Regions from separate parts of the Homo sapiens genome. Here regions 1, 3, 4, 5, 6 and 7 are each linked to region 2. The links are contacts of gene promoters, found by promoter capture Hi-C in blood cells and fetal thymus (Javierre and others, 2016). All regions are on one chromosome and are shown on one strand. The core of a region is centred on a gene start or on the middle of the fragment in contact, and the rest is flanking DNA. Distances in the headings are between cores, read along the strand shown.

Region 1 (3,893 bases), core at 1,124-3,623, 420 kb after region 2:
TAAAAGGCACATGCAGAGTAAAGGTAGCTTAGATTAGATGATGCTGTTTTATCAGCTATTAAAGAGAAAGCAAAACCTGGAATTTACTGATTGTTTCGTCCAGCCCATTCATTTTTACCAAGGCACACTATACGCAGAGCCTAGGATTAAACACCCACATCTCCCGATCCTCTCAGTCCACTGCTGTGTTTACTTTCCACATTGTTCTCTCAAAAGCCTGAAAGCTGGAATCAGACCCCTTGGATTCAAGCGCTGCATGGGAGCTGCATGACCTTGGGCAAGTTTCTTAACCTTCCCATGCTTCAGGTTCCTCACCTGTAAAAGGCGAGAATAGTAATGACAGTATCTTCCTGGTATGGTTGTTATTGGGATTAAAATGCACTTCAAAGAAGGTCTGGTACATAGGAGACCTTAAATAAATGGTAGCCATAATATCAACGATTATTATTACTTCCAGTTTCAGCATCACAGAGAATCATTTTTAAGTAGGAAAGCCTGCATGGGAGGCATCTGCATTGCAACACTCGCTTGGTTCTGGGTGCCACATTAAGTCCGAGATAAGAAATCACTTTCGCATAAAGAAAGGCCTCTAACAACTTCTCAGCTGGCGCTGGAGGAGCTCTCTCACACAGGTGGAGTTCAAAGGGAGGTGGCACGACCCGACACCAATGCTGAAAGCAGACTCCTGCGTGGAGTGGAGGCATGGCCTAGATGACCTTTAAAATGCTAAAAAGTCTATGATTTTGAGACCTTTGAGACTAGCAGCCTTGGGGGCAGTCACTTTGCTTAGCTTAGTGGCCGGCTTTATGGTCACCTTGGACGTGAAGAGCATAGTTCTGTCTGAACTTTGCTCCAGTTCTATGTAAGAGGACAAGCTCTGGTGTCACAGCTAAAACTTCCAAATACTCAAGTTGGAGGGGACTTTGAATTTATTTGTGAACAGACAATTGCACACTTGAAAATGCCAACACATAAGGGAACACACTCAGCTTTGCTAACTAACAAGATTGAGCTCATTACAAACTCTCCAGCCAGGGGATATTTCATTCTTAAAAGAGGAGTAGAAATCCTGTGTGTGTGTGTTTGGGGGGCTGGGGAGGGGAGAAGAATATATCAGTCAACATTGTTTCCTCCCGCGCTCCCAAACATAGGCTAACTGTGAAGAGCCAGGACGCCCACCGAGTCCTGGCAGCGTTGCAAGGTGGGGAGGGGGCGGGCGCGGTCCTGTCGCTAGTGACTGCAGATTTCCTCTGCGGGGCACTTCCTACGGCCTTTGATCTTTCCCCAGGAACTGCCGAGGGCCGCGTTTGCCTCTAAGTTTATTCCCTCTTGGTTTATTTATTGTATCTGCTTTCTCTTCTCGCTGGTTTGGAGGTCAGAACGCCAGTATGCAACGGGACTTGTGTCCCAGGCAGGGTCTCCCCTCTCCAGGCACTACCGCGAAATCTGGCAAAAGGTACATTTTACTGAGTCCTAGGGCAGCAAATTCAGCGGCGGAGAAAGAGTCTTTCTCCATTCAGGAGACAACCCAGGAAGCCCGATCCCGGGATCAGAGGCCAGGACCCCGCCCCGGCCCCCTGCCCCAGGCCCAGCTGGGCGCCGCCCAGGGGCTTTTCTCGGTCCGCCTGGGGGCTCGAGCTCGCGTCCCTCCCTAAGACGCCAGGCTTAACTTGGAGTTTCATCTCCTCCCCAGGAGGGTCTCAAGTTGCCTTCCTCTGCCGGGAAGGGCCCCCACTCCCCCGCTCCAGGCCCTAATCTCCACCCGGCGTCCCAGTCTGAGCGGCCTGGCCTCAGCTCTCCATCTGCGAGCCTTAAATCCCATTTATCTTCTTAGCGCCTCAGACCCGGACGGTCCCGCCTCTCTTCCTCTCACCCCCACCCCACTTGCAAATCACAGACCCCCGTCTACCCCTCGCATCCCCCAAGTGCGCTGGACCAACTACAGCAACCTTTGAGGTGTTAGAAAAAGTCGCCTAGAGGGGCGCGGCAGGAGGAGGGCCCAGGTGGGGTGGAGGGGGGGCGCCCCAAGATTTCAGGGTGAGGACCGCGGAGGGTCCTGGACCCGCAGTCGCCTAACTCCTGCCCTGCGTCTCCAGTGCTTGAAGTCGGTCCCTCCCAGGTCCCCAATCTAGGTCACCAGCGGGGAAGGGCTGCGCTGGGGGTCGCTAGAGAGGGTGAGGGGCGGGCTGTCTGCTTCCGAGGTGGGCGAGGAGTGAAGGTTTCAGGGCCTGTCCCTCTCACTTCCACTCGATTGTAATTTCATCCCCGGGCCGGTCGAGCCTCCCTCCCTCCCGCGGCCAGCCCTTCCCTCCCAGTCGGCCTCCTTCGTCGCCCCCGCCCCCGCGAAAAGCCCTGCAGCTTGCAGCCGGCTTCACTCGCGCACGCCGACCTCCCGGCTGCAGTCCTACCTCTTGGAACTACCCGTGTTTCCGGGCCCAGCCCTCGCAGCCCCCCACCTCCTCGCCCCGGCCCGGGGATCCGTTGGGGCCGCGTCCCCCACGCGCCCCCGGAGACGCCCTTTCCGTGTGCGCCCGGGACTTGGTGAAACTTTGCAGGCGCCGGCTGCGAAATGGATTTAATCCGAGGCGTCTTGCTCCGGCTCCTGCTCCTGGCTTCCAGCCTCGGACCCGGCGCGGTGTCGCTCCGAGCGGCCATCCGAAAACCAGGTAATGCGCTCCTCCGCCCAGAGCCACCACGCCCCGAGCGCCCCTGCTGGGCTCCGGGGCGAGGACACAGAGCGGGCAGCGCACCGCCTCCCTCTCCCCGACCAACGTCTGCTTAACTCGCTTCAGCTCTGCCAGGAGCTGAGAAAAGACGCAAACCTCGCCCTCCCCCGAGCCCGGGCGGCGCTAGGGATATTTATTTATTAAAAGAATGATCAATTTTCCAGACATAGTAGATAGAGGTGGTGGTCCCCGTGTTTGACCGCAGAGAGCTGACAGTTGGGACAGCGATCGTGCTGTCTCAATTACAGAGGATGGCAACCATGCAGAGGAGTCAAACCAGCCCCTCCTGCGTCTCCAAACATTTTACTCAATTCATATTGTCCAGAGCCCAGCCATTTCCTGTTAAGTGTCTGAAGGGTTGCCTGGAGCCCCCTCTGCCCATCTCGGGTCCTGCCCACGCGTTGTGCAGGGATGTGGACTCTGCTCTTAGCATCCTCTTCCACTCTGGGGCCATTTGTTCAGAAGGAAGCACCCAGTGGGTTAATTTTACCGTGTTTTGAACTCCTGTCTTTGCTTTGGCATTTAAACAAAGAAATGTACGTTGTAACCTGTTATAAGGGACTGGGAATTGGGGGAGAACTTGAAACCATAATAACGTGTGTTTCCTCTAGCTGCATATAGGTAAAAAGTCTTCGTTTATTTTGGTCTACTTTGATTTGGCCTATGCTGTGAGATTATTCAAAGTAGAACATTCTGAACAATGAAGTTCTAAACATTGTTTCCCAAATAACGATTTTTATTACTTTTTGCTGGGACCATATTTAGAATTCTGAAAAATCTGTTTTGTCTTAACTTACTTTGTAAGGGAGGTTGTCTTATGGGATTAATTATATCTTATGAACAATGGAAAACAATATTACTTTTATTTGAATGCAGTCTGCAAAACCTCACAGAAAGTGCAGTTTGTCTTCACAAACGTTTCTGTAAGAAAGAGGCAAAGCTAGGAAAATTTATCAGAGGGCAGAGAAAATCGTCTTAGCGGGATCCCATGTGAATGCTTAAATATTTTCGCATTGAAACTCTCTATCTGGAAATATGACTTGTTGCATTTCGGCTCTGGAAGCGTCCTCAGTCTTTGCACTGTGTCTCTTATTACCAGCACTTGTTACCTGCCTTGAAATCTAAGGTCATTATCATAATCTACACCATATTTAAATTATGAGCCAC
Region 2 (4,222 bases), core at 1,446-3,945:
CGGCTTCTCAGTTTGTCTCTCTATCGCTTTCCCAAAACACATCTACATCTGCCCGACGCGCTTCTCCTCAACCATGGGCCTTTGCCCGCGGTGCAAACTGCTTTACGCGCCGCCACGTGCGAGAACCAAGCTCTGCTCCTCAAGTGACGGGGGCTCTGCTCTGCCAGGTGACCGCGCACCATTTCTCGTGCCTGGCAAGCTGGTCCCCTTCTGGGTCCGGGACCACCACGTCCCGGCAGGGCAAAAGCAGCAGGCCGTGGGCGCCGGCACCTGTGGGTCCCCAGGCCTGGGGAGGCAAGGACGCCCAGGAAAGCCACAGAAGTGCTCGCAGAAGCAGCCGCTCGCCGCGAGGCACTTCTGAGTTCCCGGCAGCAGGGGGCACCAGAAACCGTCTGAGCCGTGTCGCGCCCACGCGGCCCGGAGGCTGTGTTATCATTTTAGTTATAAAACCGGAGAACCACCACTCCCTCTACGAGCCTCCCGAAATCCCATTAGCCCGGGAACCTGTGGAGGTCCTTACTGGCATCTCTGCTTTTCAGGCTCCCACCCCTCCATTCTCGCTGGTTTTCCTCTCCCCACTTCACCTGAGCGGGTTTCTTGGCAACCTGCTTTCAGACCATCCCTCACCCCTTCCACGCGTCACCGTGACAGATTCGCAGGAGGCAGCGCTCCCGCCGTCAGTGCCCCCGCACCTTCTTGTGCCTGGCAGGCTGGGAGGTTTGTTTGGGCTTTGCCTTCAAGATCCAGGTCTCAGAGAGAGAAAAAGGAGGCGGTGGGGCGGGGAGACGGGTTTGCTATAAACTCGGTTTTTTTTTTTTTTTTTTTGGCGGGGGGAGGTAGAGACAGAAATTGCTGGAAGATCTATTGCTTTTCTTAACTATGCTTCGTGTCCTTGACTGACAGAGGACTTATTCTCCCCTCAACCCCCCATAACTGCGGGGCCCAAGATGAGGGAAGGAAAAAGAATTTGGGACACTTCTCGCAGGCAAACTGGGAAAGCGGTCTGTTTAAAGGGCCAGGTTCCAGGCCCGAGAGCACCCGAATTGCTAGCGGGAAAGGGCTAGGGACACGGCGGACTTCCCAGAGATCGGACACTTGTTACTTGTTGAAAAGGCGCCACCTTCCCTGACAAAGCGAAGGCGCAGCGAAACAGTACGAGTTTGGTCGAGGCCGGCTTTGACGGCTTTGCGGGACTGGGTGCGTGAATGAGGTTGGAAGAAACATCTCTTCCTTGAAATACCTAAGCATATATTCCAAACACTGAGCAAGAGTCGAGCGCGTTCTAACATCTCCGCAGCAGGGGCCGGAAGAGTTGCCTTTGTCCCCGCCTATGAGCAGAAGGGTCGCGAGCTCTGGGATGGGTAAGCCCCCCGGGGGCGCGCACATGGGTCCTGGCGGCGGATTCTACCAAAGCCGAAACTAGCTGGGCCCCAGGAAGCTGGCGGGAACCCGCGAAAGTCCGTTTCCAGCCCGAAGAGGGTTCGTTTTTCTTCGTTGGGGCAGGAAACAAACCACCAGTGCGGAATTAGCCTCGAGGTGGTGTAAAGTAGTGGCAGTGGTGGTGGGGTGTTTTTGGAAGGCGGCACAGAGTACAGGAGAAAAAGGGGTCATTAAAATAATAACCTCAATGGCCTAGTGGAGTCTCAAGAATACGTTCGAGACAGAGATTTGAATCCAGGACTGGCAAGAAAGCCCCTCTCCTAACCTCGACGGGGATGGTTAGTTGGGGTGGAGGGCGTTAGGAACGTGCAGGCAACCGGGTGAGGAATGTAGCTTTGCCAGACCTCGCCCGGAGGAGGTGAGCCCTCCATTTTTAGGTTCTCAGCACCTTTGCAGCAGCCCCTCCCCCGGCCTGCGCTTTTCCTTGGCACAGATCAAAACAAGCTCAATAGTAAGTTGCACTCTTGGCAATGATAGTATCTCTGCACGTCCAGAGAGGACACATTTCGACGGCGGTGGGTTCGAAGATGACCCAAGCCCTGAATCGTTCTGTGACTTGACGGAAGAGCACCTGGCCGAGTCGGGGAAGGAAACTGCCCCTCTTGGGCATTCCGGGTCCAGGCGCATCTGGGGCTCCACAGATCTTTGCCCACGTGGAAAAGGCAACATGCCCCTCCGAAAGGCCGGCCTCTCTCCGGTTCTACTTTTCTCTCTCCTCGCATAGCTTAGGTTCCCTCTAGTCTTTCCACTTTCTACTCTCACCGTTTGCTCTGGGGTCCAGACGCACCCCTCTGACTAGGGCGCCCTTCAGCCGGCCGCACCCACCCGCGACGCAGGCACCACCCGCTCCCTGCTCCCCGGCCCGCTCCCTCACTTACCTCGGATCGGGTCTCCGCAGACCCTAGGTTGGACATTAACTCCAGGTGCCCCAAGTCCCAGCCAGGAGACCCATCCGGGCTGATGGCTGGAGCGCGGAGCCCCGCCCAACAGGTCAGGGGCAAGAGTTCGCAATCCTGGGGTCGCGCGGGGCAGCAAGGGCGCGCTGGAGGCGGCGGCCAAGACTCCCGCCGCCGCCGCCGCCAACAGGGCGAGGGCTGCCGGCAACTCTCCCGCCGGGCCCCCGCACCCCCAGAAGCCGAGGTCCGAGCAGCCGCCGCTGCTTTGGGTGGGGGGCTGACAGGGCTGCGCGCGTCGCGCTCTTGGCTGGGGCTGCGCGGGCCCGGGGCGCTGCGGGCGGCTCAGCGGCAGCTGCCGCGCTCTGCGCCTCCTCTGGGCGCACTGCCTGGGAGCACGAGACTGGTTTGTCTGATGCTGCTGCCGGAGCTGAGGTCTTGCCTGGAGATCCGAACGAGACACCACGTCAACCGGCGCGGGGAGTCCCGTGAAGACATGAGGGCGCCAGGAGCGCAGGCTGGTCTTCTAGAGCCCGGGCTGGGGGTCCGGGGTCCGGGGTGGGGGAGGGGAGGCGCGGGGCCCCGGGAGGGAGGGGTCGGGAGGCGTCGGCTGGGCCTGGCGGTGGGGGAGGAGAGGAGAGCAGCGAGGAGGCCCTGGAGTTCCCGAGGCGGGGGGCCGGGGTGCGAGTGGGCGACGCGAGGCGCCCCTCCCTGGGCTGCAGGGAGAGCGCTGAGAGCGCGGAGACGCCGCGGGGCTAGCGCCTTCTCCTCTCCGGGTGGATCAAAAATCGAGAGGAATGTGCGGCGCTCTGCGCGGGCCAGCCGAAAGGGGCAATCCGAACTTGACCGCGGCGCCCGCGCCGGGCTTTGCCCCCGCGCGCCGCACTGGGAGGGTGGCGCTCTGCCGGTGCAGGGCAGCGCCGGGCTTTCCTCGCGCCTGTCGAAGGCCGGCCTTCCCGCTCGGGTGTCTCGCCCTCTCGCTTCTCCGCAGGGCAGGAGGCAGTGGCGAGAAAAGGAGCTGCCGGCCGGAGTTCTAGCACCGAGAAGGAGAGGTGCGGAGCGGCCGGGTGAGGGAAGCCGAGTATTTGCCAGGGGACGCTGCGAGTGGGGATGAATTTATAGGGCTCTCACTCCGTGACGTGCCCTCCAGTGGCTTTTCTGATTCGCTTTCTGACCTAAACACACATTAGTTTAGTCCCCATGCTAAGGCCAACACGGTCTCCAAATATCTGCTGGCTGAAGTCAGAGGCTTTGCATATCATGTATTACATGGCAGGCAATGAAGAAGGCTTCTGAGGCTGGCCGGCTCCTCAGTCCTAGGCTCCATTTTCATGCTGTTGTAATCTAATACCAGACATGGGGCAGGCACATACATTCAAAATCCCAATTCCAGAGGCGTAAGATCACTTTATCAGGAACGGGTTAGGGGAGGTTGAGCTAAACCTGCTTTTATCCAGATTTTCGAAAATGCAGATGGGAAACTTCAGCAAGCGCCCACTTGGATGCTGAGTTTCCAGCGATCAGGGGCCCGGCCCCCATTCCAGAGCTCTGTGGATGGGAGAGGTGAGACCTTCTGGGCATTCCTTTTGTTGGTTAGTTCACCACCAGAAGCTGCCTGAGCCTTCTTTTGTAGAGGACAGGAGGAGGGCAAGTCCTTACACACCCTGTGCATGGCTATAACCATAAATACATTTCATTCACATGGGGCATGGAATTGGCTGTACCTCTAAAATAATGTACTAAATAGGGCATGTCTTTGCTAAGCAGAAACCTGTTTTCCGGAAGCCATTGGACCTGAATTCAGTGGGACCTCTTTTATTTTATTAGCTGGGGCCAGGGAAAGTGTAAACAGGCTCAGTTTACGTCCATGTACCTCTTATTTTATGACT
Region 3 (3,882 bases), core at 341-2,840, 370 kb after region 2:
GAAAGAGTTTGCTGAACACTGCTCTAGAAGATAACCCAACATGAAAACAAAGCAAAACGTTTGTGGCCCTATATTGAAGGCAGTGGTTTGACTATGTCTTTTCACAATCCAATGGGTTTGATTATGTCTTTCCTATGCATTGGGATGAGTTGAGAGAAAAATACTCCCATCTTGGATTCAATAAATGTGTGTTCTCATCTTCACTGTGTTCCTAATTAGCTGTGTGTTCTTAGGTAATCATTTCATACCCCTCGATGTCTTTTCCCACTTATCACAATAATAATTCTGTAGTAATAGCAATAATTATAATAGTAATAGTAATAATGACTCTTGTTAAATGCCAGGTTTTGCTCTTGGCATTTTACTGTGAAATAATAGTGTGTGGTACTCTAAATTCACAAACCTGCTGGATTGTGAAAAGACATAGTCAAACCACCACCTTCACTATAGGACCACAAGAGTTTTGCTTTGTTTTCATGTTGGGTTATCTTCTAGATACTCTAAATTATAATTACTTGGGCTTTTCATAAATATTCTGATTCTGTTCTTACAGGCATGTGGTTGAATTTTGTGTCCAAATCCACTTGTAGGTAAATGTGGCCATGGGGCTTGCTTTGGGGAATAAAGTTTTAGAGGAAGTGATACATGTAACTTCTGACCAAACTTTAATGGCCAGGATGCACACATCCCCCATTCTCTTTACTCATCTTTCCTTCCACTATGGCAACCAGAAATGTTCCAGAAAGTGGGAGCTCTGTCAGCTGGGTCTCAGAGTATGAGCAATGCAGAGCAGAACTCCCAATTGAAACCTCATGGTGCATAAACATTAAACATACCTTTTTTAAAAAGCCAGTAAGATTTGGGGCTATTTGTTACTGAAGCACCAGCTAGCCTATCCTGACTAATAAGATATCCACTGAGATTCTGGTACTGTTCAAATTCTAGAGTTTTAAGAATACAAAGACCTCTTCTTCCTCAAAGGTGGGAACCTATTTGTTTTTGTCATGGGAAGATGTTACCCCATGATGTGCAGAGGAAGAAGTGATAGGTGACCCTGTTAGTCATATCTAGCATATTTAATTAGGATACAGAGGAGAGGTGAGGAGATGGACAAGGCTTTTTTTGAGTGAAGACAGTAACAATCCAGTTTAACCTGTTGTTATTTCAGTTATAGTTTTAGGCAATCTTATTCCCAAATATCTGCACTTGTGGCTATTTTAACATTTCATCCCTGCTGATTCCTTTGGGTTAAGGTTCTAATGGATCTTATTTAAATGTCTATGAATGCACTTGCATGCAGGTGTATGATTTTAGGAAGGGTAGTACATTAAGTTATTAGTAATCATAAATAAAAACCAATGCATCAGGTATTATTTATTGGAAGGTAAATGAATAGGGCCTAAGAAAGATACATTTTGGAAAGGAAAAGTCTCATAGACCGAGATTTCCTGGAAGTGAAGAACCCAAAACAGCTGGGGTTCAAGGTTCCAGGGGTTATTTAAAGACATGAGCAAATACCTTTCAAAAGAAGACATACGTGTGGCCAAAAAGCATATGAAAAAAAGTTCAACGTCACTGATCATTACAGAAATGGAAATCAAAACCACAATGAGATACCATCTCACACCAGTTTTCAGAATGGCTGTTATTAAAAAGTCAAAAAATAACCCAGCAATCTCATTACTGGGTGTATACCCAAAGTAATATAAATCATTCTGTTATAAAGACACATGCACACAAATGTTCACTGCAGCACTATTCACAAAAACAAATACACGGAATCAACCCAAATGCCCATCAATGATAGACTGGATAAAGAAAATATGGTACATACATACCATGGACTACTATGCAGCCATAAAAATGAATGAGATAATGTCCTTTGCAGGGACATGGATTTAGCTGAAGGCCATGATTCTTAGCAAACTAATGCAAGAACAGAAAACCAGATACTGCATGTTCTGTCTTATAAGTGGGAGCTAAATAATGAGAATACATGGATACATAAAGGGGAAAAACACACACTGAGGCCTATCAGCGCGTGTAGGGTGGGAAGGGGGAGGAGGATGAGGAAAAGTAGCTAATGGATACTAGGCTTAATACCTAGGTGATGAAATAATTGGTACAACAAACCTGTGTGACACACGTTTACCTGTGTAACAAACCTACACATCCTGCACATGTACCCCTGAACCGGAAATAAAAGTTTAAAAAAAAATAAAGACAAGGTGCCTAGGGTCAAGGGAGGACTGATAGAGAAAAGAGAATGAGGAGGGAGCAGAAAGAAATGTTAATCACTTTAACACAACTTTAAATGTCAGTCATACCTAGGATTGGTGTGAGTTTTTAGTTTAAAAAACTAAAAGAAAGAGGTTGGGCATATCATCATTTTTTGTCCAGTCAATAGTAAAAAAATCAACTTGGCACAAATAAAGGGGCAATAGGAATTATTTTAATAATAAGCATGAGGAGTACATAAGCCATGTACTTTTATCCCTTTGCATTTTTCATCAGAATACTTTCAGACTGCATGCTTCAATTTAAGTGCAGGACATCTGATGTGTAACATGGTCCTCTGGCTCAGATTGACACTTTCACTACATGTAGGCATTGGCTGGAATTATTTTGCAAGTTGGAGATTATTTCACATCGTTCCAGAATGGGCAATTAGGGTCTGTTTTAAGATGAGCTGTGGGTCAAGCTAAGGTATGAGTGGCCTTTTGCATGACCAGCAAAGACAAAGCTGAGTGTCAGCCACCACGGAAGAGGGTCTGCATCTGAGCAGGAAATGTGGCACGTGACTGTGTGAGGTGTGGCCCCTGCTACCAACAGCAACAGCAAGCCTGAGTGAGCACTCTGCCAGGCCCACGCAATCCTTCTCTGAGAATGCTGGCCACCAGGCTGCCATGTTGCCCAGCTCCTAAGGTACCATCCACTCCTGTTGTGACTGCGAGGGCTTTCCTCATATAAATACAGCATGAATGTGCTTCTGGGAGTTGTAAAAAGTGGTGGCCTTCTTGGTCCCTAAACTTTTGTGAGCATGTCACCTCTGATGCCATGGAGATTGACTAAGTTTTACAAGGCATGGGCCAAGTTTCCAAAGCTAAATCGTCTGAGGTCAAGCCGGGGGATGTGGGGACTCCCAAGAAGCTAATGGGTGACAGGAGATGGAGTATGGCTTTGAGCTCATGTCGTGTATTGGAGCCAAAGAAGGCTCTGGTGCTAGAATAGGATAAGGAGTTTTGAAAAGTGTCAGAACCCCTTGCTTTGTTGGGCAGAGCCAGATGAGAAGCGGTCCTCCTGGGACAAGCCTCAAGAGTCAGGACGGTATATTTCCAGGTGCCCAAAGGAATGGGACACACCGTTTACACATCACAGGAGTTTAGAGGAGAGAAGGTTAGGTGGGCTAAGTGATGTCATTTCTCCCAGTGTGCTTTTCTTTATTTTCTTTGACTTTGAGCATATATTTATTTTACAATCACTGTCTTAGACAGTTCAGAATGCTATAACAAATTGTCATAGACTACTGGGTGAGTTAAACAATAGAAACTTATTTCTCACAGTTCTAGAGGTTGGAATTCCAAAAGCAGGACACCAGCCTGATTGGGTTCTTTGTGAAGGCCATGTTCTTGTTGCCTCTCCAGAGGCTGGAGAGCAGGGATAGAAAAAGAATCCTCTCCTGACCCTTCTTACAAGGACACAAATCCCATTCATGACGGCTCCACTCTCATGACCTAATTACCTCTGAAAGGACCCAGCTCCCGAGACCATCACATTGGGTGGTTAGGATTTTTATATGAATTTTGGGAGGACACAAATATTCAGTTGATAATAATAAAAGAAAATAATATCTGTTTCTTTTTTAGCAAACTTAGCTCAAGC
Region 4 (3,810 bases), core at 820-3,319, 390 kb after region 2:
GAGGCCAAGGCAGGCAGATCACGAGGTCAGGAGATCGAGACCATCTTGGCTAACACGGTGAAACCCCGTCTCTACTAAAAATACAAAAAATTAGCCAGGCGTGGTGGCGGGCGCCTGTAGTCCCAGCTACTGGGGAGGTTGAGGCAGGAGAATCACTTGAATCAGGGAGGCGGAGCTTACAGTGAGCCGAGATTGGGCCACTGCACTCCAGCCTGGGCAAAAGAGTGAGACTGTGTCTCAAAAAAAAAAAAAAAAAAAAATGCATCTTTCCCTGGTAAACTGAAATCTAGTATATTTTTTTCTATTACAAATGAAAGCAACAAACCACAGAAAAATTAATAGTACCTGTCACCTATAGACTTTGGCACCAATAGAAATAACAGGTACTTTCATATCATATTACAGTTATTGATAAGATCACAATATGCTGTGTGATCATCACTACTGGGACACTGTGGTTATTACTTACACTTGCCTCTGGATCTTATTCTAATAAGGAAGCACCTATATCACAATTTCTTAAATATTTAGATAACAATATTTGAATATTATTGGTTTTGTAGTGCCAAGTAATTCATGTTATACATTTAAATATACTATTCTGAGGGAGGTCCTTAAGCTTCATCAGGCTGTTAAATAGGTCCATAGTACAAAAAAGTTTGACTCCGTGTCTTGGATATGGTGGGGCCACAAGACAGAGGAATCCTGGATCCTTGAATGACTGCTTAGAGCAGGCTCCTTTCCCTCCCTTTCCCACTCTCCCACCAATCTGCGTTAAACTCAGACATGAGTGAGAAATAACCAGACATTTGCAACGGCTTATTCCAGCAGTTAGTCTATGACTGACACAATCCTAGAGGAAGAGGAGTAGGGAAGAAGTTAACATTCTGAATGTTGATGTGAGCATTTTGAAACTCAGTTTTCTAGCTCTAACTTTCACACATTTGGCTGCTGGGCCTTCACCTTTGTGTCCTCAGTGATGAGTCCTTTATGGTTCAGCAGAATGAAAGCAACTTATTCTCCAACAGCCTTATATCAAGCACTCTTACAGCTGCATCAAAGTTCAGCTTGAGAAGGGACACACAATCGAGCTGGTGTGGTTCAAGGACAGGATTTTAATTGCTCATAAAACTGGCATGCAGTAGTATCTGACTATGTACACCACAGTTGCATAAAAAGACAGCTAACCAGCTCTGCCAGAGCATACTAAAGAGCACTCTAGCGTTTTCCATTTAAAATTAATGTTTCTTTCAATGCAGAAGCCATGACATCTAAAACATGCAAATTTATTTTTACAATTGACTTTAACACTAAAAAGACATTTGGTAATTAAATGAGTTAGGAGAGTGTGATTAGCAATGGCTGAGCATGTGCCTCTTGTTATAAGTTTAGAGGGAAATTGCTTTTTCATTCCTTTTCTTTTCCTGATTTAACAGAACATTTTCCCATAGTTCTATTTTAATGAGCTCCTAATGATGTTCTAAGTATTCCCTTTTACATTGTTATAGAGCAATGGGTTTATAAACCTAATTAGGTTTGATGATTATAAAAATTCAAATCAATATCACATCTATAACATGCAATTTATTTTTAACTTCAGTCTATCTGTTGGTAGCTAATGCATTGATATTGTTTAACTTTTAGCTTTTTACTTAGGTGTATGGGCAAACAAAATACTGTAAGTAGCACTCTTAGGTTCCCGACACTTAAATTTCAAGGAATCATCTAACACTTAAAATTGGCTTTGTTCTTGAGCAGCCTAAATATCTTAAGAGCATCTTATCATTCAATTTTCTAAATAATTTTTTGTATAATTAGATAATACAATGCATATACTATCCAAACAAAATAAAAGAACATCCAATAAAAAAGCAAGTCCCCTTTCTCCCTTGACTTCTAGAAACCTAGTTTTCTTCTCTGGAATCTACCACTGTTAACAATTTATTTTATATCTTCTCAAAGTATTCTGTGTATATATAAATAAACATGTATATATTTCAAGTTTCCATACAAATATATTAAACTATAAATATTCTCTAGAACTCTTCTTTTTAAACTTAACAATAACTTCTATAAGATCTTTCCATACACATATATAAAGAACTTCCTCCCTTTTCCATATAGTATTCCAGTTTATGGATGTGCCATGCGCTGTATTTAGGTTGTTTCCAACCTCTTGCCGTAACAGTGTTTTAATGAGTAGCTTTGCCCAATAATGTCATTTTGCACATATGAGCATGCATATCTATTATCAAATACCAATGAGCACAGGATATAAGCATTTTTAATGTGATAGATATCATAAATGATTATTATTATATAATAAATTCTTTGCAACAACTGATGTTGGACTCCTCCACTAGGGAGGAATTCTCCCAAAGAATTCCAGTGACGCAAGGTCCCAGCGATTTGTTTGGCCTCCCTGGTCCTGCAGAAGGGCTAAGTAAATAAAATAGCCTAGACCTAAAGATGCTGAACAGAAACAAATTTGTAAGACACCGAAGCGTTTGGGCTTGGGGTAGGGAGGTGAGAGAGGAGTGAGAGAGGTTGGGCGGGGTGAGAAAACAACAATTGAGAATTAAGACCAGCCAGGCTGAAGATGCCAGGAAATGCACACGTAAGAGAAGGGGGGTGGTACCTGGAAAAGTTCATTGTGCAACTGTGGCAAGAGACAGAGAGAGAGAACATGGGACCTGGAATTAGAAAACCTGCGTTCTAATTCTGCCTCCATCACTTAACTACAGCTGTGTGATCTTGGATGAATTAGGATAGCAATACTTACTTTGCAAGGTTGTCATAAGGAATAAAGAGACAATGCACGTGAAAATGCCAGGTAACCCAAGTGAACTTGACGAATGTTAGTGGAATCTAAATAAATGTAACTTTCAACATGTGTAAGTACAAAGGAATCCTAAATACTGAAAGTTCACCAGAACATCAACTCCATAAGAGCCAGGGCTATGTTTAGCTGCTTTACTGCTATATCCCCTGTGCAAAGAGTTGACATTGAATAGATGTCCCATGAATATCTATGAAAAGAGTGAAGTTTGGACCAACTCTGCAAAACTGGAGAAGGAAATGAAAATGCAAGGAGAAAGGCTGGTTAAGGATGGAGATAGAGCTTTGGGAATTCTGTGCTTCTAATGATCATCTTAATCATTATGAGGAAAACCTAATCATGTATCTTATTAAAATGTGTTGATTGGATAAACATGTGAATGAATAAACTCTTTAAGGTGCTTTCCAAAATTATTTCATGAAGTGAGTAAGCTCCCCAAACCCTAGAGGAGGAAAGGGAAAGGGTATTTGTATTTGAAATATTTGTATTACAGTGATTTGAACTGTTGACAAAGTTGTTCTGTATTTTATTTTTCTATAGCTTTAAACATTTTTTGACTCATGTTTTGGTTGGAATAAAGCATTCTGGTTGCCTATTATTGGCTACATGATTCTAAAGTCTGCTGTATTAATGTTGCTTCTGTCTCCATATGGAAATGTATAGATAAGAAGATAAGTCCTCAAGCTTTCTCAGTGATCAGGCAGAGATGAGGGAATTAAATGAGAGAAGTTAGGTCAGATGATCTTGAAGGTCCTTTTCTGCCCTAAAATTGTAGAATTTCATGAATAAAAGCACAATGGGAAGAGCAGGGGTTAATTAAAAAAACAAACAAACCTGGATCCTTATGAGAGAGAAGCCACATTACGTGTAGAAGATTATAACAAACGCCTCACATTTATAGAGTGTTTACAAAGGGGCAGGCTCTACATAACTGTTTCACTTAATCCTTACAATCCCTGTAAAAGAATTGT
Region 5 (4,054 bases), core at 502-3,001, 440 kb before region 2:
TGCTGAAGGAAATGGTCTACATTTGTATTTGACACTTGGGGTAGATAATTTTTTTTTTTTTTTTTTGAGACGGGAGTCTCACTCTGTCACCGAGGCTGGAATGTGGTGGCGCCATCTCCGCTCACTGCAAGCTTCGCCTCCCGGGTTCATGCCATTCTCCTGCCTCAGCCTCCTGAGTAGCTGAGACTACAGGCACCCGCCACCACGCCCAGCTGATTTTTCGTATTTTTAGTAGAGATGAGGTTTCACCGTGTTAGCCAGGATGGTCTCGATCTCCTGACCTCGTGATCTGCCCGCCTCGGCCTCCCAAAGTGCTGGGACAGGCGTGAGCCACTGCGCCCGGCCGCACTTGGGGTAGATAATTTTTTAACACCTCCCTTCTTTATGTGATGAATTATTTTTAGTAATAATTATGAAATGAAATGAAAAGTAATCAGAAAAGCAACAGCTTTTGTAAATCTGTCAATGACTGTCAAAATCGGTATTCTTTGCGTATTCCTTCTCAGTACATAGTACAGCAAATTTGTCAATTTGCGTCTGTCTGTAGTTGATCAAATAAAGCTTCTAATTTCAATTTTGTACATTTTTCTTTCATATGAAATAACAGATCTATAGTATATATACACACATATGCACATGCATTCATGTGTGTGCATATGTAAAATTAAGAAAACAAACAAGAATAAAATAAGAATAAATTTGGCAGTTTCATTAAAATTTTTGTTTTACAGTAAGTTCCAGAAATTGCAATGTTGATTGTATATTTTTTCTTTTATCAGTTCTAGTGGCTTTTAAATATCTCTGTAGGTTGAAATATTTTGACTGGGCACTGTGGCGCACGCCTGTAATCCCAGTACTTTGGGAGGCTGAGGAGTGCTGATCACTTGAGGTCAGGAGTTTGAGACTAGCCTGGCCAACATGGTGAAACCTTGACTCTACTAAGAAAATACAAAAATAGGCTGGGCGTAGTGGCTCACGCCTGTAATCCCAGCACTTTGGGAGGCCGAGATGGGCGGATCACGAGGTCAGGAGGTCGAGACCATCCTGGCTAACACGGTGAAAACCCATCTCTACTAAAAATACAAAAAATTAGCCGGGCATGGTGGTGGGCGCCTGTAGTCCCAGCTACTCGGGAGGCTGAGGCAGGAGAATGGCGTGAACCTGGGAGGCAGAGCTTGCAGTGAGCCGAGATGGCGCCACTGCACTCCAGTCTGGGTGACAGAGCGAGACTCTGTCTCACACACACACAAAAAAAATTAGCCAGGCATGGTGACAGGAGGCTGAGGCAGGGGAATTGCTTGAACCCGCAAGGCCGACTCTGCAGTGAGTCAAGATTGCACCACTGCACTCTAGCCTGGCAACAGAGCAAGACTCTGTCTCAAAAAAAAATTTTTTTTTCATGAAAGTGTTTTTACAGAAAATTCATTTTATATTTGGTAAAAACTTCTAAATTTTTTTCTCTAAAAATCAGAGAAAATGGCTAAATGATGTCAAACATTGCCATTAAATGATCCATTGCTTTAGAATGCTTTTGGTGAAAACAATTGAGGTATTCAAACATTTACCGTTTTAAATTCTTTTGCCAACCATGTCTTTTGTTTTTTCTTTTGGCATCCATAGAAAACAGAATTGGATTTGCTTAGCATTTTGTTTCTTTGTCTTTATAATCTTTGTTTATTTTGAATCTAGTATTTAAATGCAGAAACGTAGTACAACAGGGATTGGAGATAGGAAATTACCCTTGAAATGAGCTTGAATGATTCTGAACCATGAAAAACAGTGTGTAGAGACCCGAGTAGGTGAGTGTGTTTGTGCATGTGTGTGGTGCAGATAACTGGGAGTTCTCCAGATTAACTTCGTGTAGAATACAGTGGTTATTTATTTTTATTATTTATTTATTCATTTATTTTTGAGATGGAGTCTCACTCTGTTGCCCAGGCTGGAGTGCAGTGGCATGATCTCAGCTCACTGCAACCTCCGTCTCCCGGGTTCAAGTGATTCTCCTGCCTCAGCTTCCTGAGTAGCTGGGATTACAGGCATCTGCCACCACGCCTGGCTAATTTTTTGTATTTTTAGTAGTGATGGGGTTTCACCATGTTGCCCCAGCTGGTCTTGCATTCCTAACCTCAGGTGATCCACCTGCCTCGGCCTCCCAAAGTGCTGGGATTACAGGTGTGAGCCACTGCACCTGGCCAGAATACAGTGTTTATTAAAAGATAAGTAATACAAATATGTTAATTGAAGTTCACATATATGTTATTAAAACTCGATAGGAACCATAGCAAAAAGAACATTAAGTAGTGTCTAAACTAACATTGTTTATAATTGCCATCACCAGGTGATAATAAAAAGCAGGCTTATCTTTGCTTGATTTTATCATTGTTTTTAAGTTCTCTACAGAAAAGTGTACTCTCTTATTGTCTACATTACTTCCACTGATCTCATAGAATTAGTGTCTTTATAAAAAGAGTCACCAGAAAGCGTGCACTAACTCCTCCTCTCCCACGGGAAAGGAAGAATGGCTTTTTGAGGACATAGCAGAAAGTGGTCGTCTACAAGCCAGGAAGAGAGGTGTCACCAGAAACCACATTTGTCCATATTTTGATTGTGGACCTCTAGCCTCCAGACCTGTCAGCAAATACATCTCTATTGTTTTAAGTCACCCAGTCTGTGGTATTTTGTTTATGGTTGTGTGAGCTAATACAGGTTTGCAAGGCTGACTAATGGCTGATAAACAGAAGGGAAGAAAGAAGCATATTGCAAGCCAGAAAAAAATTGCTATAGCGAAGGCCCAAATGTATATAAGTACAGCTATGGTCATGAAATTGTACCTGATTAGTGCATGGCTGAGTTTTCTTACTAGGAGAAAGTAGAAAGATGAGGAGGATGAGATCAAATCCAGAAAGTATGAATAAATACTCTCTGGAGGATGTGTAATTTGGTAAGCTTTGTAGAGGATTACAGTTTTTGTGTTTTTTTGAGATGGGGTCTCTCTGTCACCCAGGCTGGAGTACAGTGGTGTAATCAAAGCTCACTACATCCTTGACCTCCTGGGCTTAAGTGATCCTCCCACCTCAGCCTCCCGAGTAGCTGGGATTACAGGCATGTGCCTCTACACCTAGCTATTTTTTTTTTTTTTTTTTTTTTTTTTAGTAGAGATGAGGTCTTACTACATTGCCCAGCTCGTCTCAAACTCCTGGGCTCAAGTGATCCTCCTGTCTTGGCCTCCCAAAGTGCTGGGATTACAGGCTTGAGTCACTGCCCAGCCAAAGATTAATTTTTTTTTTTTTTTTTGAGACGGAGTCTTGCTCTATTGCCCAGGCTGGAGTGCAGTGGTGCAATCTCGGCTCACTGCAACCTCCGCCTCCTGGGTTCAAGCAATTCTCCTGCCTCAGCCTCCTGAGTAGCTGGAATTACAGGCACGCGCCACTGCACCCAGCTAATTTTTTGTATTTTTAGTAGAGACGGAGTTTCACCATGTTGGCCAGGCTGGTCTTGAACTCCTGACCTCAGGTAATCCACCTACCTTGGCCTCCCAAAGTGCTAGGATTACAGGAGTGAGCCACCTTACCCAGGCCAAATTTTTTATTTTTAAAATTTTTGTAGAGGTGGGGGTCTCACCATCTTGGCCATGCTGGTCTCACCTGGGCTCAAGCCATCCTGCCACCTTGACTTTCCAAAGTGTTGGTATTACAGACGTGAGTCATTGTGCCTGGCCAAGATTATATTTTTAAGGATTTTTTTTAATTGACAGATTATTTTTAATTGACATAATTGTACATATTTCTGGGGTAGAGTGTGATCCTCCACACCTGTATACAGAGTGTAATGATCAAATCAGGGTGATTAGCATATCCATTGCGTAAAACACTGATCATCTCTTTGTGTTGGCAATATTCAAAATTCTCACTTTTAGCTCTTTGAAAATATGGAGTAAACAGTTGTTAACTATAGTTACTTTACAATGCTATAGAACACTAGAACTTATTCTTTCTGTCTAGCTGTAATTTTGTATCTGTTAACCAAACTCTCTTTATACCCCTCTTTTTCCTAC
Region 6 (3,777 bases), core at 46-2,545, 400 kb before region 2:
TAACCCAGTGTGTGGTATGTAATTAAATAATAAATGTTTCTTAAGTGAATGTTTAGTGAGTAAATGAAGGTATTAGTTCATTCTCACACTGCTATGAAGAAATACACAAGACTGGATAATTTGTAAAGGAAAGAGGTTTAATTGACTCACAGTTTCACACTTCTGGGGAGGCCTCAGGACACTTACAATCACGGCAGAAGGCAAAGGAGAAACACCTTCTTCATAGGGTGGCAAGACAGAGTGCGACATGCAAGCAGGGGAAATGTCAAATGCTTATAAAAAACCATCAGATCTTCTGAGACTCACTCTCAGGAGAACAGCATGGGGAAACTGCCCCCATGATCCAGTTACCTCCACCTGGTCCTGGGAATGTGGGGATTACAATTCAAGATGAGATTTTGGGTGGGGTCACAGCCGAACCATATCAATGAAGAAATGAATTAATGTTAAGTTAGTGTTATTAGATCTCCATAGTTTCACTAGAATAGACTTTAATTCTGGTTGCCTGCACTGGTAGCTGTACTTCAGTGATTTCTGCGAGAAAATAGCGCTCATTTTCAAGCTTCTTTTTGGCAGTCCTTACTGTCTTCCCCCAGCACCCAGCAACTTTGTAGCAGATCTTTGTTATTGGGTAGAGGTTTAATTATGGCTTATAGTTGTATGTGACCTTAGCCTAGAAGGGTTGTTTCTGATTTGTAAGTCATTTGAAATTTCTGTAAGGATGTTCATCAGATAGAATTGCTCATATTATTTTAGATATATTTACCATCATTGTTGTTATTGGGTGTAGACCACAGAGCCTGGGAAATAATCCTTTGGTTGGTTTTCAAAATTAAGCCAAAACAAAAAATGGTATATTTTCCTCTCTTCCATTGGGACTGTAGCTCTTGTTATGAATTCTGGTAATAAATTACTTCATCGAAGTCAAATAGTTTATGATGTTCCTTGGCAGGAAAATCTTGAAAATATTTTACTGTTATAGCAAATTTCACACTAAGCTATATTTCAAAAAGTCATTAGTAAAAGTTCTGGAAAAAGAACAGTCACCATCAAGTGATATGCTACCAAAAGATGGATTGCTACTATTTTAGATGATTTAGCTGTGCCAATTATATGGGATTTTTATGAGTTATGCCATGCATGACTTCCAGTAAAACTTTGATTTTAAATGTAAACATTTATTTAAATGGTTAATTCACTCCTAATATAAATACTAAGTTGTGTGTCCTTGTAAATTTTTTTAAGTGTTAGAAATTGTCTATATATAGGCACATTCTGCATTGAAATAAATGAAATAATTTTCATCCTATCTTTTTGGTGACAGTATTTCTATTTGCTGAGTGATGAAAAAGTAGTTATGAAATGAGGTACAAACTATGATAGACTCTTCTGTAAGTAGAACATTTCAAGTATTATCTTGGTTCTTGCAAGAATATTTAGCACTTACAAATGAGTTTTCATTATGTTCAAATGTGGTCAGCTGCAAAGAGAGTAGTGACTCAGATTATTCAGTGTAGGAATAGTCCAGAATTTGACCTTTAAATTGTTTTGGAATTTGTGTTTGAATATTGATATCTCTGAAAGAGGTATGTGCAGCACTTTCCACAGTATAGTAAACAAAACAGTAATGTCTTTGTCTTGAAAAAAACTGCAATTCCCCAACTGTTTCTTTACAGTCTAAAACAAAACTACCTTTATTTCTGTATTGTTGCAATCTTCAATCTGCTTTTAGTCTGGGATATAATAATTTGGTCTTAAAAGGTTTTCAGCTTTTGAAAATCTTAGTTATCTCTTGCCTCTCACTTACCAGGCTGGCCTGATGTGATAGCACCTGCTTTTCTTTATGGACATGATCATTACTCTAAAATTTGAGAGTTAATTAAAAATTACAATCTAGTGTGATGAACAAGGTAGACAGTGGGCCATTTATTCATTTCTAAAACCTCTCTGTGTGTGTATGTATGTCTGCCATATACCAGCTTTTTGGTGCATAGGGGATCCAGAGATGATAAATAGATATAGTCTTTGAGAAGCTTATATTTTGCAGTTTGATAAGGGGGTGGTGGTGGGGGAGATAGGTAAAAAATTACAATGTATTATCGTAAGTTCTGTGACTGAGATAAGGAAATGCCATAGAAATGCATAAGAGGGTCATTTAACCCAGTGTTTGAAATGTTGAGAAGTGCTTTGAGCAGCTGGTCACATCTGAATTGAGTTTTGAGGGATGAATAAAAATTAGCCAGGTAAAGAGGAAAAGAAGCCTGGAAAAACACTCTAAGATGATGTGGCCAATATAGGAGGTAAGCCTTGGAATACATAGTGGCTATCATTTATTGAGCTCTACCATGTGCCAAACTCTGTTAGGAGTTTGAAACCACTTACTTCACTGTAACCTGTGGGGCAGGTGCTATTATTCATAGTTTGCAAATGAAACTGAGAGTCATAACTTTGCTGAAGTCATCACATGGTTAATTAATGGCATTGCTAGTTTAAAAAACTCTAGCATTTCTGGCTTTTTCTGTAGGCTATTTCCTCCCAGCAAAGGACAGTTTCAAGATGGAGGAGATAAATAGTTACCATGCTGTTGAAAGTTCGTGTATGTAGATTAAGTTCTGTAAAGTGTGCAGAGGGATTTATAGTGACTTGTTTGTTCATTTAGAACTATTTACTGAGAGCCTCTTATGTGCCAAGAACTGTGCTAAGAATTAGGAATAAAATGATAAATGCCAAAATTGAGGTAGGGGGTGAAAGAAAGTGGGGACACTGAGGGAAGCCATAGTTTGAAAAAGCGGGATTGCAGAAGAAAAGATAACGATTGAGCAATAAATTTTAGGGGAAGTCAGTAGTCTTTTAGTTTTTGTTTTTTTACTATGGTAAGTATTAATACTTTGTTTATATGCTGAAGAGAAAGAGCCATAGCAGGGGAAAGATTGAAGATAGAAAAAGCTGTTAGGTCACATGTTTAATTAAGTAGATTGTGAGATGATTCTTGAATTTGTAATAGACATATAATATTAGTAGGATTAGCCTGCTCTTGAGTAATGAGACTTGAATAAACAATGAAACCTCTGATTTAAATGATCACTGTAACCTCTTATGTCTGATTTATGCATTCCTCTTTACTGTCCCTCAGTTGTTCTGCCCATACTCCTGTCTATGATAGCATTCATTATACTGAAGTAGAGCCATTGATATCTCCCTGTTAGACCATATGCTTCTTGTGTGGGAGGGATGAGAAGAGACCGTGTCTGCTGCCACCTAACAACTGGTACAATCCCACTTCAGTAAATGCTTATTGAACCAATGAATCAGTGAATGATTTGGAGTTTCTTATTTTTACCATTTTTGAACAATTTTCTTTTTAACTTTGAAGGGTTAAAAGGTATATAGTTACCCTGTGAAGGTTTTGTTGTTTGTTAGAAATTAAGTACTTAACACTTTAAGGTATGCCCCAGAATAGATAGAGAACTTAAAAAATTTTTGATGTTGAAAGGACCTTGTTGGTTATTTTTTAGGAAAATCTGTAATTATTATTTTATACATAGGTTACAATATGCTTAAAAATAATTTTTGATATTAAAGTATGGTAAGCAGATATATCAACCTTTTCGCTCCTCTTGATAAACTGTGATTTAAAGGAAAAATAAATTTCTAGTTTTTCTTTATGAATTATACTATTAACAGCTACTGATTTATTTTTACATTTGGATTAAATTAAAATTTCAATTTATGTTGACAATAAGAGATAATTTTATAGAACCTAATGAGTTTCTTAGG
Region 7 (3,995 bases), core at 953-3,452, 450 kb after region 2:
TTAAATTAACCAAATTGTTGAGCAACTGCTTCTCTGGCTCTGTAGACCAGACATGTGTTGTTTCTTCAATATTGGGGTGGTTTTGAGTGGTAGGGAAAGCACTGTGTTATAAGGTAGAAGCAAGCCCCAAGTAGAAGCTACCCCACCCTCATGTCCTATAATTGGGTCTGTGATCACCACATGCTTTTATGAGGGTAACCTTAGAGAAACCCTCTGTGGCTCATCTCCTTATTAATCCAATTCCTGCCCTTATGGGGGAGTGGGAATAGGAAGTCTTCCTTTGGTGGTACAAAGCAGAACCTCTTTAAACTCAGGTCTCATAGCAAACCAGCCTCCCTGACACCCCTCTTCCTCTACTCTTGCCTCTTTCTTTTATGATATCATCTTCCTTTCAGTTTGCTAAGCTTGTATCCTGGAGTCATCTTTAATTCCTTTCCTCTCCTTCTCTACCTGCTAATTCTTCTTCCTTGGCAATTACTCTTTCTTTCCCCGCCCCCACATTTCAGTTTCCAGGTCTTATTTCAGATTCTTTTTACTTGAAACCTGTAATAGGCTCCTAACTAGCTTACTTTCAGTGTTTCTGATTCATACCCATCTGTATTAGTCGGAGTAAGCTAGATAATGCTGCAGCAACAAGCAGCCACAAACCTCAATGGCTTGAAACAAATGTGGTTCATGCTACACTGCCATGGTAGATTATAAGAGACTGATCTCTGAAGCATCTTTACTGAGTGACCCAAGCTCCACTACTTAGAATTTTGTCAGTTTCTGATAGAGGAGGAAAGTGGACAGAAGGATCTCACACTGACAAATGTTCTGTTCAAGAAATGACACTAACTTCCACTCACAACCATTGGCCAGAACGAGTCACATGGCAGAAACATGTAAACCTCTCATGGGCTTGGAACGCATGGAGAAATGGATATCGGATATCCTACACTGAAGGCAAGAATTCTATAATGAAGACTAGGGATATACAAGGAAGGCCAGGGTCCTGCATTCAAGACTAAGTTTCTCCAAAGAAGGCCAAGGTCCTCTAAGGAAGGCCACGGTAGTCTCCTCAAAGCACTCCATTACTTAAAGTCTTTTGGCAGTTCCCACTATCAAACAGCCCAGAATGTAAGGATCTCTAACATTTAATGAATAGCCAATATTTGTGAAGCACTTACTCTGTCAGGCACTTTGCTAGGTTCTTTATACCCATTATCTTAGCTCACAACAGTTATTCAGGTGGACATTATTACCCACATTTGACAGATGAGCAAACTGAGCATTAAAGAGTGTCTTAGTTTGGATTTTTCCAAAATCAGACCACAGAGATGAAGACTTGGGTGCCAGGAAGCCCAAGGAAGGGTCGGGGTAGAGGGTCAGTAATGTGATGAGTGAGTCACCACTGTGAGCAGCTGGGGCTCAGCACAGCTGCAGACCCTCTGAGAGCCTGTAGAACAGCGCTCCGCACTGTGGGCTAAGGAGCTGGACTAGTTTTCCACCGATTCCTATCCCTCCTTGGTTGAGACTTGTTCTTGAGATGTTAACTCCCCAGCAAGTCCACCTGCCCTGCCACAGTAGCCAAGCACAAGCTGTCAGCCAGGATATACCCATAAGCAGAGGCGAGGAAGCTTCAGTTTTCTGGAACTGTGCCGATAACCCCGACAGGATATGAGCATTGACAGCACATGTTACAGAACAGTGCAGTGAGCAAGATTTAAACCCAGTCTTGTTCCAAAACCCACTATCTGTTCACCCTGACCTCTTACTACTTGCTACTACTGGAGATAGCTCTGTGCTCTAACCAAAAAAAAAATGGATTACTGACCTCTCTCCAAACCATCTTGTCCTTTTCCTTCTCAATCCCTTTTTTCATGCCGTTTCTTCTTCCACTTGGAGTTCCCTTTGCCTCTGGCCTCCAATTCAAATTCCGTCTGTGCTCTGCCCAGCTCAGTTGCTTTCTCCATGAATGAAGCCCTTTTTGCCCTCTGGGATGCTGCCTCTCTCCTTTAAAACCCTACAGGGGTCGGCCGGGCGCGGTGGCTCACGCCTGTAATCCCAGCACTTTGGGAGGCCGAGGAGGGCAGATCACGAGGTCAGGAGATCAAGACCATGCTGGCTAACGCGGTGAAACCCGTCTCTACTAAAAATACTTAAAAAATTAGCCGGGCGTGGTGGCGGCAGTCGCCTGTAATCCCAGCTACTCGGGGAGGCTGAGGCAGGAGAATGGCGTGAACCCGGGAGGCGGAGCTTGCAGTGAGCCGAGATAGCGCCACTGCACTTCAGCCTGACAGAGCGAGACTCCGTCTCCAAAAAAAACAAAACAAAACCCTGCAGGGGTCAGTTATGCTCCTGCCACACTCACTCTGTGGTGTCTCGCATAGCAGGGATACACTTAGAGATCTTTTTCTGGATTAGACTGTAGACTCCTTGGGGGCATGGACTGTATTTTATTAAGTTGCTTCAAATATTTGGTGGAATAAGGCAGGTAAATATGACTGTAAATGTGCACACAATATCCATATGCATATTCATTTCATTTTCGGCCCATGTTGGCTGACCTTCCCAAAGGTCACACTGAAGTCTGGATTTGGGGAGGAGAAGGTTTTCTGTTTCTCTGCTTCCTGCACCACTACCAGCTTCTCTACTCACCCAACCTCTGGCATCTGTGTGGCCACTTGCAGTTTCCACTCCTGAGTAGGAACAGAAGAGGGAGCTGACTCATGAGGGCAGGGTGGTTTCCAGCAATTTGCAGCAGGTTCCTCTCCACGTGTCTCCACGTGTCTTATCTGGAAATGTGTACCTGTCATTATTCCCATTAGAAATAGAAGTGGAATGAAAATGGTTTGCTCAATTCTGATGACATGACAAAGAGAATGCAATTAACCTTAAGGAAAATTGCCCAGAAACCTGACACTCTCAGCCATATGCCAAGGATTGCTAATGATTAGGAGGTGACAAAAACCTTTGGCTTTGTTTGGTTCAGGGCTAGAAAAAGGAAGCAACTCTTCAGGGCTGTCACCTGGTATTCAGAGTTGCACTTTTCATAGTCTAAGAAAAATGGCATGGACCGAAGAGGGAAATTCCACCTGGCTCTTCCTCGCTTACATGTTTCTGAAGAATGGCTTTTAGATTTCTATTGCACTGCAGAGCTCTGCGTCAAGAAGTAACAGCACAATCAATGGCCCCAGCCTCGTCCATGGAGTCACTTTCTGGGTTTTGCAACCTGTGAAGTTTTCTAACATGGTAACCCCAACCCCTGCTTGTTAATATTGACCTTCAGTTTGAAATGCTGAGCCCAAGACAGAAACTTCTGGCCACAGATGGTGATTCACTCTAACCAAAGATAAGTGGCCTTTCTCATTTTCCCCCCAGATGTGCAGAAACAGAATATTCCTAATCAAATCCTTAACAATGTCTTATCACATTACTTGCTTCAATAATTTCCTGCACAGCAAATTTATAAGTTAATTATACAGTAGACAAAAAAAAGCATTTTCTTTTATCTGTGTTAAATGAGTTGCCTTCTGATTTCATTGTCCACTCCTTTGTTCTTACATGGCTAAGAGTTTGTTTGAGGAATGGCTTTGTCGTGTTTCATGTGTTTGTCACTGCTGCTTAAATGAAAAGTTTAAAAGGAAAACATTGAAAAAGTTGGCTGCCCAGTGGCGGTCTCTTGCAAGTACAGGTAACCTAAAAGTTTGCTTTCATCTTCCAGGTTTTGAAATCATCCCATTTGTTAATCACATGTGTTCCCCAGTTCGCTGCTGAATGCTAACTGAACACCCAGGTCTTGAGTTGATATTATTCCTGTATCAAAATTGCACAACTATTCCAGGTATACTAAAGGGATAGTACCCACCTGTACACATAGAGGCAATTTAAGTATACTATGCAAAAGTATGTGTTCCTATCATGAAAATTTTGTATAAATAGCTGTAAGAAGATTGATCAGGGCTGGGGGTTGGGTGGCATGTGTGATTAATCAAGGAGAACTTTCTGGAGGA

Evidence for each region. Contacts are between HindIII fragments. The CHiCAGO score rates a contact against its expected background, and 5 or more counts as called.
Region 1: a contact is called between the fragment with the promoter of EGFLAM here and the fragment with the promoter of GDNF-AS1 in region 2, in 3 of 17 cell types (M0 macrophages, M1 macrophages and M2 macrophages). The highest score is 6.5, in M0 macrophages.
Region 3: a fragment that was not itself captured here is called in contact with the fragment with the promoter of GDNF-AS1 in region 2 in 6 of 17 cell types (M2 macrophages, M1 macrophages, M0 macrophages and 3 more); the score reaches 9.2 in M2 macrophages.
Region 4: a fragment that was not itself captured here is called in contact with the fragment with the promoter of GDNF-AS1 in region 2 in 1 of 17 cell types (M0 macrophages); the score reaches 5.9 in M0 macrophages.
Region 5: a contact is called between a fragment that was not itself captured here and the fragment with the promoter of GDNF-AS1 in region 2, in 1 of 17 cell types (endothelial precursors). The highest score is 5.2, in endothelial precursors.
Region 6: a fragment that was not itself captured here is called in contact with the fragment with the promoter of GDNF-AS1 in region 2 in 2 of 17 cell types (megakaryocytes and endothelial precursors); the score reaches 7.1 in megakaryocytes.
Region 7: a contact is called between the fragment with the promoter of EGFLAM-AS4 here and the fragment with the promoter of GDNF-AS1 in region 2, in 2 of 17 cell types (M1 macrophages and M0 macrophages). The highest score is 6.0, in M1 macrophages.

What each region holds. Positions count from the first base shown.
Region 1 is chr5:38,256,186-38,260,078 of GRCh38, forward strand. EGFLAM (EGF like, fibronectin type III and laminin G domains) reads left to right here and starts at 2,374. Exons shown (of 22, transcript NM_152403.4): 1 at 2,374-2,666. The coding sequence starts at 2,570. It overlaps LOC124900966 (a long non-coding RNA gene), which reads right to left and starts at 2,481. Exons shown (of 2, transcript XR_007058739.1): 1 at 2,409-2,481; 2 at 912-1,446. RefSeq lists an enhancer at 1,004-1,505. The HindIII fragment of the contact is 7,534 bases long and covers 1-3,893 here.
Region 2 is chr5:37,837,189-37,841,410 of GRCh38, forward strand. It overlaps GDNF-AS1 (GDNF antisense RNA 1), which reads left to right and starts at 2,696. Exons shown (of 4, transcript NR_145476.1): 1 at 2,696-2,850. It overlaps GDNF (glial cell derived neurotrophic factor), which reads right to left and starts at 2,853. Exons shown (of 3, transcript NM_000514.4): 1 at 2,319-2,853. RefSeq lists enhancers at 250-319, 1,777-2,714. The HindIII fragment of the contact is 7,909 bases long and covers 1-4,222 here.
Region 3 is chr5:38,211,626-38,215,507 of GRCh38, forward strand. No RefSeq gene overlaps it. Among named protein-coding and RNA genes, the nearest start is that of EGFLAM, 45 kb to the right of the region's middle. The HindIII fragment of the contact is 5,545 bases long and covers 1-3,882 here.
Region 4 is chr5:38,229,315-38,233,124 of GRCh38, forward strand. No RefSeq gene overlaps it. Among named protein-coding and RNA genes, the nearest start is that of EGFLAM, 27 kb to the right of the region's middle. The HindIII fragment of the contact is 2,904 bases long and covers 618-3,521 here.
Region 5 is chr5:37,398,040-37,402,093 of GRCh38, forward strand. All of the region lies in intron 5 of WDR70 (WD repeat domain 70), which reads left to right. Among named protein-coding and RNA genes, the nearest start is that of WDR70, 21 kb to the left of the region's middle. The HindIII fragment of the contact is 2,385 bases long and covers 560-2,944 here.
Region 6 is chr5:37,433,918-37,437,694 of GRCh38, forward strand. All of the region lies in intron 5 of WDR70 (WD repeat domain 70), which reads left to right. Among named protein-coding and RNA genes, the nearest start is that of WDR70, 56 kb to the left of the region's middle. The HindIII fragment of the contact is 1,471 bases long and covers 561-2,031 here.
Region 7 is chr5:38,288,784-38,292,778 of GRCh38, forward strand. It overlaps EGFLAM-AS4 (EGFLAM antisense RNA 4), which reads right to left and starts at 2,203. Exons shown (of 4, transcript NR_046219.1): 1 at 1,817-2,203. All of the region lies in intron 1 of EGFLAM (EGF like, fibronectin type III and laminin G domains), which reads left to right. The HindIII fragment of the contact is 6,902 bases long and covers 1,618-3,995 here.